4 separate regions of the Homo sapiens genome follow, and regions 1, 3 and 4 are each linked to region 2. The links are contacts of gene promoters, found by promoter capture Hi-C in blood cells and fetal thymus (Javierre and others, 2016). All regions are on one chromosome and are shown on one strand. Each heading gives the region's core, a stretch centred on a gene start or on the middle of the fragment in contact. The rest is flanking DNA. Distances are from core to core; before and after follow the strand shown.

The links. The method cuts DNA at HindIII sites, captures the fragments that hold promoters and counts their contacts. A CHiCAGO score of 5 or more calls a contact.
Region 1: the fragment with the promoter of SYNGR4 here is called in contact with the fragment with the promoter of PNKP in region 2 in 1 of 17 cell types (naive CD4 T cells); the score reaches 6.1 in naive CD4 T cells.
Region 3: a contact is called between the fragment with the promoter of CARD8 here and the fragment with the promoter of PNKP in region 2, in 1 of 17 cell types (naive B cells). The highest score is 5.3, in naive B cells.
Region 4: a contact is called between a fragment that was not itself captured here and the fragment with the promoter of PNKP in region 2, in 2 of 17 cell types (naive B cells and naive CD4 T cells). The highest score is 8.7, in naive B cells.

Annotation. Positions count from the first base shown.
Region 1 is chr19:48,362,958-48,365,657 of GRCh38, reverse strand. SYNGR4 (synaptogyrin 4) reads right to left here and starts at 1,291. Exons shown (of 5, transcript NM_012451.4): 1 at 1,121-1,291. It overlaps TMEM143 (transmembrane protein 143), which reads left to right and starts at 1,718. Exons shown (of 8, transcript NM_018273.4): 1 at 1,718-1,760; 2 at 2,127-2,367. The coding sequence starts at 1,738. RefSeq lists enhancers at 997-1,146, 1,517-1,636, 2,117-2,166. The HindIII fragment of the contact is 5,293 bases long and covers 1-1,658 here.
Region 2 is chr19:49,866,326-49,869,025 of GRCh38, reverse strand. It overlaps PNKP (polynucleotide kinase 3'-phosphatase), which reads left to right and starts at 1,450. Exons shown (of 17, transcript NM_007254.4): 1 at 1,450-1,557; 2 at 1,809-1,972; 3 at 2,581-2,627. The coding sequence starts at 1,822. RefSeq lists silencers at 1,314-1,613, 1,684-2,053 and enhancers at 1,213-1,994, 1,995-2,700. The HindIII fragment of the contact is 3,228 bases long and covers 1,060-2,700 here.
Region 3 is chr19:48,254,581-48,257,280 of GRCh38, reverse strand. CARD8 (caspase recruitment domain family member 8) reads left to right here and starts at 1,369. Exons shown (of 14, transcript NM_001184900.3): 1 at 1,369-1,489. CARD8-AS1 (CARD8 antisense RNA 1) reads right to left here and starts at 1,606. Exons shown (of 2, transcript NR_040599.1): 1 at 1,487-1,606; 2 at 1-930. RefSeq lists an enhancer at 1,261-1,500. The HindIII fragment of the contact is 2,537 bases long and covers 1-1,886 here.
Region 4 is chr19:48,633,427-48,636,126 of GRCh38, reverse strand. DBP (D-box binding PAR bZIP transcription factor) reads left to right here. Exons shown (of 4, transcript NM_001352.5): 2 at 137-547; 3 at 2,472-2,683. Among named protein-coding and RNA genes, the nearest start is that of DBP, 2.6 kb to the left of the region's middle. RefSeq lists silencers at 197-256, 377-686, 1,397-1,576. The HindIII fragment of the contact is 627 bases long and covers 1,137-1,763 here.

The DNA.
Region 1 (2,700 bases), core at 42-2,541, 1.5 Mb after region 2:
CATGGGGTGGGGATGGGGGGGGTCCCCGGAATGGAGTTGTGTGGGGTGAGGGGACTGCTGAGCCTCTTAGGAGTCAGGGTGTGGGGTGAATGGGCTGTCAGGGGCCCCAGAAGTCGGGGACGTAGGATGGGGGTGCAGGTGGGTCCCAGGGAATGAGGTTGTGTGTGCTGAGGGGGCTTCTGTGGGCCCCAGGAGTGGGGGGCATAGGATGGGGGTGCTGGGGGTCCCAGGAATGGGGTTGTGTGGTGAGGGGGCTACTAGGGGTCCCAGAAGTGGGAGGCATAGGATGGGGGTTCTGGGGGGTCCCAGGAAAGGTGTTGTGTGGAGAGGGCTGCTAGGGGTCCCTGAAGTGGGGGACATAGGATGCGGGTGCTGGGGGTTCCCAGGAATGGGGTTGTGTGTGGTGAGGGAGCTTTCTGGGGGTCCCAGGAGAGGGGGGCATAGGATGGGGATACTAGGGGTCCCAGGCAAGGTGTCGTGTGGGGAGGGCTGCCAGGGGTCACAGAGGTGGAGGTGCAGGATGAGAGAGTCGCTAAGGGTCCCCTGGGTTGAGGTGTGGGTTAAGGGGGTCTATGGAGGATTCCAGAGAGGTGAGGGCCTGGGGTGAGGGTGATTCTGGGGGTCCCAGGAGTGGGGGACATAAGTGAAGGGGCTGCTTCAGGTTCCAGAAGTCAGGAATGTGGGCTGAGGGGGTTGTTGGGCGAGAGGGCTGTCAGGGATCCCAGAGGTGGAGTGCAGGGGAGGGCTGGGATATTTGGGGACCACGTCTTGTGACCCAGGAGCTGAAGGGCCTGCAGAGGGACTGGGTCCTTCTGTGAGAGGACACAGGTGGGACTTTCTGGGGACTAGGGGGTGCGGCCATTGAGATCAGAGCCCCTGGGAGGTCTGAAACCGAATAATCCCTTTCAGGTTTGGGGGTGACAGCACCCTTCGTGGAGAACCCAGGTATCTCAGGGCATATTTCAGGCTGTCCTTGTCACTTGGGGCCATTTCCCAGAATAAGGGCCTCCCTTTCGAATTCAGCTCCATTTTCACGGAAGTGCACCTCCTCAAGCTGGGAGTCGGGACCTCGGATTTGTGGGGAACCTCAGAATGAGGCCACGCCCCGGCACTGGGCTACCTTCTTAGAATCGCGGTCTCCCCTTTAAGGACCTGGAATGGCAGTGCTGAGGTTTGGGGGTGACGGCACCTGAGAAGGGGCCGCCCCTTCTCTGGAGGGCCAATCTGCGTCACCTGAGGGCCCGCCCTTCCTTTCGCCACCCCCACCCCTCCTGGTCCCTAGCGCCACCTCAGCCTTCTTTTGGTTCCGCTTTTTCCCGCCTTTTCGCTCCTCCACAGCTGATTGGCTGCGCCCAAGTCCCGCCCCCTCCCTCTTTCCGCCTACTCAGGAGCTGACACGAGCCGGGGCGTGGCCTCGGCGAACGTTGGACTGCGCGCCGTTGGCGGACTGCGCGCGGGAGCCCTACCCCGCCCCATCCCTCTAGGGAGTCTCGCGTCCACACCGCCCCTTCCCTTTGTAGCAAGCTGACAAGGAGACACTCCTGCGGCGCATGCGTCGCGCCCAAACGAGGCCGGCGGTGGAGAAAGGCAGGCAACGCATGCGTAGTTGATGTAGGGAGTCGGCGGTGAGAAATGGACAGCCCGCATTGACCGAAGCTTTGCGCATGCGTTTTACTGCTGGGTGAAGCCGAACCTCGGGAGCCCAGGACGCCCTCCTGCACATGCGCAGGAGGCTCAATGACAGTCGAGCTTTGGCTAAGGTGAGGGAGAAATCGGGGGATTGCATGGCCAGGGAGGGCGGCCCTGCACCCCCTAGGTAACCTTTACGAGCATTTCCTGCTCTCCTAAGATCTACCTCGCTGTCTAGACCCCAAAGAAACGTTGTACCACTACAGGGTCTCTGGGCCTGAAAAACGCCCCAGAACCTAAGACCTCTGACCCCTGTCTGGGACCCAGGCCAACTGAGCAGTGTGGGAAGGGGACAGGCAACAGGGGCTTTGAGGCGAGCGGATGGGCTCTGCGCCCTGCCTGGGGTAGAGACGGCTTCTGGAGGGTGGGACGTGGAGGTGGAGAGGGCGCTTTTCCTCTAGATGGCCTTTGACCCCTGCCCATTTTCCTCTGTTTAGGCTCCGGGGAAAGGGTCTAGCCATGCTGCATGTGACCCGGGGGGTCTGGGGGTCCAGGGTCCGAGTATGGCCACTGTTGCCCGCGCTCCTCGGGCCCCCCCGGGCCCTCTCATCGCTGGCAGCCAAAATGGGGGAGTATCGCAAGATGTGGAACCCCAGGGAGCCCCGCGACTGGGCCCAGCAGTACCGCGAGCGCTTCATTCCCTTCTCCAAGGAGCAGCTGCTCCGCCTCCTAATACAGGTACCGCCTGTCCCAGGCCCAAGAGCCTGGGGACTACGGCTCCCAGCAGGCTTCGCGGCGGCAGGGCCCTAGTTGCTGCAGAGAGCTGCCCTGGCGCCTCCTGGGAGTTGTAGTTCCCGGGTCCCTTCGTGTTTCCCTAGTGGGCGGGAGATGAGCTGGAATGCAGGAGCCAGGTCTCCGAGATGCAGACGCAGCATCCATTCCCAACTCTGGCTTGTTCTGAGGGCTTGAACAGGCACTCTCTGGGGCATGGTTTTTCCCTCTTTAAGATGGGTATAGTAATCATCCTCATCATTACTATTTCTACTACCTGATAATAATTGTACCTATAAA
Region 2 (2,700 bases), core at 201-2,700:
GTGAGTGTTCATTCAACATTTTCTGAAACCGAATGGCAGCGTCTGATTATCAGTGAATAGCTGGGGGTTGGAATTACTGTGCCCATTTTATTTACTTTTTTGAGACAGGGTCCCACTCTCGCCCAGGTTCAAGCGATTCTCCTGCCTCAACCTCCCGAGTAGCTGGGATTACGCGCCACTGCCGCCCGGGTAATTTTTGTATTTTCAGTAGAAACAGGGTTTCATCATGTTGGTCAGGATGGTCTTGAACTCCTGACCTCAAATGATCCACCCGCCTTGGCCTCCCAAAGTGCTGGGATTACAGGCGTGAGCCACGGCGCCTGGCTTTGTGCCCATTTTATAGATATGAAGACACAGGTTCATGGGGTGGAGGAGAGCATCCCAGTCTTATGTGACCATGGAACCCAATCTTGAGGAGGTGAGTGTTGGAGACAGAGCCCACATATTCACCAGCAAAGCCAGGAACTCCAGCCGGGAGTCTTCTATTATAAAAGGACTGGAGCAACTGGGCTTGGTGCCTCACGCCTATAAGCCCAACACGCTGGGAGGCCAAGGCGGGAGGATCACATGACACCAGGAGGTCGAGATCAGCCTGGGCAGCACAGTGAGACCCCTTCTCCAAAGGGAAAAAAAAATGGCTGGAGGTTAGAAAGCAGGTGGAACCTCGTCCGAAATTAGGACTAGGTAAACGTAGTCCCACCAGACCACTACCGAAAGAATGCTAACACTAAATAAGACTTAAACGGATCTGAGCACTTTGGGAGGCCGAGGTGGGCGGATCACGAGATCAGGAGATCGAGACCGTCCTGGCTAACACGGTGAAACCCCGTCTCTACTCAAAATACAAAAAATTAGCTGGGCGTGGTGGCGGGCGCCTGTAGTCCCAGCTACTCGGGAGGCTGAGACAGGAGAATGGCGTCAACCCGGGAGGCGGAGCTTGCAGGTGAGCCGAGATCGCGCCACTGCACTCCAGCCTGGGCGACAGAGTGAGACTCCGTCTCAAAAAAAAAAAAAAAAAAAGACTTAAACAGGGCTCACTACCACCCATTTTTTAAAGCTTTTGTCACGTGTTAGCTCCTTTAATCGTCATGGTAACCCCACGAAGCGGAAACGATTATCCTTTTTATAGATGAGGAAACTAGAACATCGAGGGTGAAGCCAAAGAAGGACTTAGGGGCGCTGTCGGGGGCGGAGGTTTCCTCGACTGACAATGACCATCAGATGGGAAAAAAATCTTCCTCCCTGGGATGAAAATTAGAAGTCAAGGTGGAAAGAGGCAAATCTGCTAACGGAGGATCCAGTCCCCGCTACCGGCCTGAGCCTCGCGTTGCAGCAAGAGAGATGAAGGTCAGGGCTGCCGAGAGACCCTGGGGGCCGGGAGTCGGGGAAGGGGCGTGGCTGCTGTGGGAGGAGGCCAGGCCCCGCCCCCCACCCACGAGGGGACGAGTCATTTCCGTCCGCCGAGGAACCGACCGCCGCCGGCCGGGTTGCAGGCGGGGCACCTCGGGCAGGACCTCCCTGGTCGGAAGTGGCCGTGAGCCCAAGCCGCGGTCCCGGGTGAGTACGGGGCGGGGCGGAGGCATGTGCGAGGCTCTCTGCCTGTACGCTGGAAAGTGGGGATTGCAACTCGGGGAGGGATGGAGCACGCGTCGTCGCCTGGGAAACGGGTCGACCCGCGGAAGGCGAGCGGGTGGGACTTCCGGAGCAGTTAATGGTGGGGAAACTTTCTAGTGGATGTGGGAGGAGGCGGGACTTCCTGCAGCAAATTGGGGCTGTGCGCCGCTCAAGCCCGTTTACCTGCTCCCCAGGCCGGCACCCAGGATGGGCGAGGTGGAGGCCCCGGGCCGCTTGTGGCTCGAGAGCCCCCCTGGGGGAGCGCCCCCCATCTTCCTGCCCTCGGACGGGCAAGCCCTGGTCCTGGGCAGGGGACCCCTGACCCAGGTTACGGACCGGAAGTGCTCCAGAACTCAAGGTGAGCGGGGCCTGAGCTGGAGGGGGTGTGGCCTGCTGCAAAAGCGGGAACAATCCAGAGGGACGCTTGGCTGCTACGCGGGATTGCAGTGGTGCAGCCAGCCCCGAAGTCGGAAGGTGCTCTCTAGGGAGTACAGGAAGATAAAGTTTGTGCTTGATTTAGAATTAGCTAGATCCTTTGGGGGAGAGGGGATCGAGCCGATTTAGGGAGGATGTTCACTGCGCGGATGATGCTCAGGCCATCGGGAAATCCAGAAACAGGCGACGACCTTCGTCAAGAGAAAAATGATCCTGTGGAGAAAAGTAAATGTCGCTAGGTTGGGATGGATGGTAACAGGCCAAGCCCCGGACCTATATCTAGCCACATTTTTTGTCAAGGAGGAAACCAATTCTGTAGAGAAAAGTACCTCCCTGTCCCTTGCAAGGACCAGTGTCAGGCAATCCTAGTGCCACTATCTGGCTACTGCATGTCAAGGAGCCAATCCCATGTAGAAATAAACTGCCTCTTACTCCCTGGATGCTATAGCCTGAAGCAGGCCACACTCCCCAGAAATGAGGGACCCAATCACACAAGGATGCAAATCCTGACTCCACCCCTCCAATCCTCAGTGGAGCTGGTCGCAGATCCTGAGACCCGGACAGTGGCAGTGAAACAGGTATCAGTGCCTCTGCAAGGGCCAGCAAGGCCTGGGGATGGGATTTGGGGAGGAATTGCAAGCCGTCAGTGAA
Region 3 (2,700 bases), core at 120-2,619, 1.6 Mb after region 2:
CCTCAACCAGCCTATCCTGATGTTAGCTATATATATAATTGTATTATATGTATAATAGTTGTTATATATAAAACTGTATATATACATTTATTGTATTATAATCATATATATACATTTATTGTATTATATATAATATACAACTGTATATGTAATTGTAATATAATAATTATATACATAATAGTATATGTAATACAAGTATCCAACCAGGAAATTGATGTCAACGTATCTTACCATTACCTAATGTGCAGACCTTATTTGAATTTTGTCAATATTTCTCTTAACGTCCTCTTTCTTCTCCAAGATCGAATCGAGGATCTCACATTGCACTCAGTTGTTATGTCCTTAGATTCCTCCAGGCTGTGACCGTTTCTTATTCTTCCCTTGTCTTTTGTGATTGTGACACTTTTGCTGAGCATGGCCAATTATTTTACAGAATGTTTATCAATTTGGATTTCTTTGATGTTTTCTCACGATTAGGCTGAGGTCATGCATGTTTGTCTTCTGTGTTCAGTCAATATGCCCCATCCTTTTTCAAATATTTCTTCATGTTCTGGCGTCAGAATTTGTTCCAATGTTATCTTATATATTCCTGCCCCAGCCCTCGAAGTAACCATTTCTCCACAGATACTTCAAAATAGTATTTAGAAACCAAGGCCGGGCACAGTGGCTCACGCCTGTAATCCCAGCACTTTGGGAGGCCGAGGCGGGCTGATCTCGAGGTCAAGAGACGGAGACCATCCTGACCAACATGGTGAAACTCCGTCTTTACTAAAAATACAAAAAATTAGCCGAGCGTGGTGGCATGCACCTATAATTCCAGCTACTCGGGAGGCTGAGGCAAGAGAATCGCTTGAACCTGGGAGGCAGAGGTTGCAGTGAGCCGAGATTGCTCCATTACACTCCAGCCTGGGTGACAGACGGAGACTTCATCTCAAAAAAAAAAAAAAGTAATATTGATTAAAAATCAAATTGCATGAGAATGCATAGCAGGATACCAAGCAAATACAACTTTTAAATATTACAGAAAATGATATTTAAAATACAAACCAAATACATAAATCATGCAGGCGGATTAAGACGTTTCTGGATAGTGGTAACAGCTGAGAGTGGCTGGATGAATTCCAGAGAAATTTCATATATTGCTTCAATTTTATTTAAAATATACTATTACCTATGTCTTAGATATTTTATTTTAAATAATGAACAAGGATATTATAAACTCTGCAGAAGTAAGTGTAATCGTGTTTTTTTCCTGCCCACATTAAAGATGGCCCAGATGCTTGCACTGACCCCATTGACTGCCCACAGCCATCATGGCGACCGGAAGTCCTGAGAGCTTACTTCCCTCAGTTCTCAGAAAGCCCACCTCCTCTGCGAGCGTTATTTCAAAAGAAGTTGAGAACCAGAGAAACCGACCTAAGGGGATTCTCCCATTTGGCCCGTCCTACCCTAAAGTCACCACCTGCTGCTTTTCTGGAGCGCTTACCAGGTGAGTTTCAGGAGCCCTAGTGTACAGGAAGGAGAAACGGAGGCTTGTTGGTAGGACACCGCCAGGCTGCTCTGTGTTCTGTTCCTCTTAGTCAGCAAGGAAGGAGTACGACAAAGTGAGAAGTTCATATGAGCGTGTCAGAAGGGGAAATAGGGCCCCTCCCTTGTTAAAAACAAAACCCTCTGGAAGCTCGGCATCCTGTCATAACTTAAATTTATGACTTCAGTGACTTGGCTTGGACAGTCTTAATAATCTCTCTCACACTCAATTTGTTTTAATTTCTGTAATAATAATTTTTATACCAATGTTTATGTTGTTAATACTAATAATTTTACACTGTAACTGTATAACTTTAATTATTAGAAGTGTTAACCTAACTAACAAACATATGAAAGCTTCCTAAGGGAAACAATTTTTTTTTCTTTTTGAGATGGAGTCTCGCTCTGTGGCTAGGCTGGAGTACAGTGGCATGATCTTGGCTCACTGCAACCTCTGCCTCCCAGGTTCAAGCGATTCTCGTGCCTCAGTCTCCCAAGTAGCTGGGACTACAGGCGTGCACCACCACATCCAGCTAATTTTTTATTTTTTAGTAGAGACGGGGTTTCACCATGTTGGCCAGGATGGTCTCCGTCTCTTGACCTCGAGATCAGCCCGCCTTGGCCTCCCAAAGTGTTGGGATTACAGGCGTGAGCCACTGCGCCCAGCCGGAAACAATGTTTATTTGGGAATAGAGCATTGCAATTGGGAATAGACATGCCGTATTAAACTATGTGTATATTCAGGGAGATAAAGGAAGACAGAAATGGGGAGGATTGCATATTGTTTTAACAGAATTTTCCTTGGCTACAAAGATCAGTAACAAGGGTGACATTAGTCCTAGGTTGGACCAGCAGTTGCTGGGCAGCATTCCTTGCAGAAATATATATTTTTTTAAGGTTGTGAAGACCTTTATGTAAGGTTGTGGGTTTTGTAGAGTCTTTTTCATCTTCAGGCATGCAAGGATAAGAGCCCTCTCTTCATGGCCTTCCTGGCTCTATTTGTCAGGGTTATCTTAACATAAGTGACTCCATTTTGTTCTGACAACTTTCAGATTTCCCCTTGTGATCAAGAAGTTTCTCTGAAAGCACTCTCCTGCCTCAGCCTCCCGAGTAGCTGCGACTACAGGTGCCCACCACCACACCCAGCTAATTGTTTTTGTGTTTTTAGTAGAG
Region 4 (2,700 bases), core at 201-2,700, 1.2 Mb after region 2:
TCCCGTCTCTCCTCTCCGACCCCCCGTCCCCTCTTTCTCTGGATCTCCGCCCTGTGCCTCTCGGACTCGGGGTCTCTTCTCCATCTCTATCTCCCCCACCTCACCCTCATCCCAACCCGTCTTTCCCGGCCCGCAGGTCTCCTGAAGGAAAAGGAGCGCAAGGCGGCCCTGCCTGCAGCCACAACCCCTGGGCCAGGCCTGGAGACTGCGGGCCCGGCGGATGCCCCGGCTGGGGCAGTGGTGGGCGGAGGGTCCCCGCGGGGGCGCCCGGGGCCGGTGCCCGCCCCGGGTCTGTTGGCGCCACTGCTGTGGGAGCGCACGCTGCCGTTCGGCGATGTGGAGTACGTAGACCTGGACGCCTTCCTGCTGGAGCACGGGCTCCCGCCCAGCCCGCCGCCCCCCGGTGGCCCGTCGCCGGAGCCGTCGCCCGCGCGGACGCCCGCACCCTCCCCAGGGCCGGGTTCGTGCGGCTCGGCTTCCCCCCGCTCCTCTCCTGGGCACGCCCCCGCCCGGGCTGCCCTCGGGACCGCCAGCGGCCACCGCGCAGGTGCGGCGAAGGGGGCGGGGCGGGTCCTGACGGGGCGGGGCTTGGACTCAGGGGGCGGGGCTGTGCGACGCTGGGGGCTGGGACCGTGGGACCTGGCTGCGGCCTCGAATTCTGTGTCCAGTTGTCGAGAGGTGTCGTGGGAGGGGGCCAGATTCGGTGTCTCTTAATGGGTCAGGGACCAATGGATCCATGGGGGAGGAGAGACTTGGAACCCTAAATTCCAGGAAGCCTGCCCAATGAGATTTTGTGGGTTTTTCTGTGGGACTTGGGGACAAACGATGTGGATACTCGTGAAGCCAGAACTGGAAGTCCGGAACACCAGAGTTATTTACTGGGGAGTGGACTGACCCCCGAATCTGGGCCCATAATCGATGGAACTGGGATAGGACTGGAGCCCCTAGGTCCTTTACAGGGGCAAAGGCAAAGGAGAGGCACAGAATTCTGTTTACCCAGGACATAAGAGACTGGCAGCCCAGGTCCCTGGGTCCCCCAGTGGGGCGTGCTGCAGCCCCGGGTCCCAGAGTTCTTCAGAAGGGAAAACGTTAGGGATGTTGTTTCTGGATCCTCCAATTGGGGCTGGGGCCAAGCTTCCTATATTCCTAGGAGAGGCCTGGGATCCCAGAATCGTGGTAGCCCAGTGGCGGGGGTTCTGGGAAGGTCCAGGAGGCCGATGCTCCCCGGAGAGCAGGGGGTTGGGAATCTTTGGAGGTTGAGTGGAACTAAGTGACTGGAAGAGCAAGAGGAAAGATGTTTCCCTTTGGGCACATTGAGGTCTCCAGGGACGGACTGCAGGTCGGGGATTCCTGGGCACACCTGCTCCAGGTCCGACCTCCGGGCCGAACCAGGGCCCTACCCTTCCCAGCGGCACATTCCTGCGCCACGTGAGTCCTCCCATCCCTCCTCCGCGCTTCGCGCAGGCGCCTTCAAGCGCGAGGGGGGCGGGGCCGGGGGAACGTGAGGGCGCCGATGGCGGGGGCCTGGGAGGAAGGGAGGAGGAGGGAAGCAGGCGTCAGCACGTGACTCGGCCCTGAACCTGTGTCCTTAGCTGGCCCCGGCTGGCTGGTGCTTAAAGGTACAGGCGCCTCCTTTCGAACCAATCTTCTGGAACCTTAGAGCAGCTTCTCCTCCTCTTTCCAGCGAGTAGCTCTTAGACTCTAACTTGAGAGCTTTTCAGTGCAGTAGATTCTTTTTCTCTGGACAGTCTGGGGTCTAAGCTTAGGTCGTGGATTCGGTAAGTAGGATTCAGGCTAGACTGTGCATCTGAAGTCCTGAGGTTTTAGAAGCAATAGCCCCATCGCTTCTCGGCCTTTTGGCTAAGATCAAGTGTAGAAGCAATAGCCCTGATTCGTGTGTTACCTAGGGCAAGTCAGTTATGACTGGGACTCAGTTTCCTTGTTTGTAAAGGTGGATATGGCTCCATGATCTCTAAGCATCTTTATGGCTTAGGGGAACCTTCATTTTTCTCGTTATTTTGGAGACGGAGTCTCGCTCTGTTGTCCGGGCTGGAGTGCAGTGGTATGATCTCAGCTCACTGCAACCTCCACCTCCAGGGTCCGGGTTCAAGCAATTCTCCAGCCTCAGCCTCCCTAGTAGCTGGGCTTACCGGCACCCGCCACTACACCTGGGCAATTTTCGTACTTTTAGTAAAGATGAGGTTTCTCCATGTTGGCCATGCTGGTCTTGAACTCCTGACTAAAGGTGATTCGCCGCCTCGGCTTCCCAAACTGCTGGGGTTACAGGCGTGAGCCACTGCGCCTGGCCAAGGGAACCTTCATATTTTATATTAGGGAGATTAATCCCTGGCCGAATTTATGCTAGATCCCAGAAGGACTTTCCATGTGGCTATGATACCACAGCAAAAAGTAGCTTCAGGAAACCCCCTCCTTAAAATACACACTCAGCTGACACGTGCTGTTTCCCCAAGGCCTGACCTCTCGGGACACACCCAGCCCTGTGGACCCAGACACCGTGGAGGTGTTGATGACCTTTGAACCCGACCCAGCTGATCTTGCCCTATCAAGCATTCCTGGCCACGAGACCTTTGACCCTCGAAGACATCGCTTCTCAGAAGAGGAACTTAAGCCCCAGCCAATCATGAAGAAGGCAAGAAAAATCCAGGTGCCGGAGGAGCAGAAGGTGAGCAGAGCTGGATG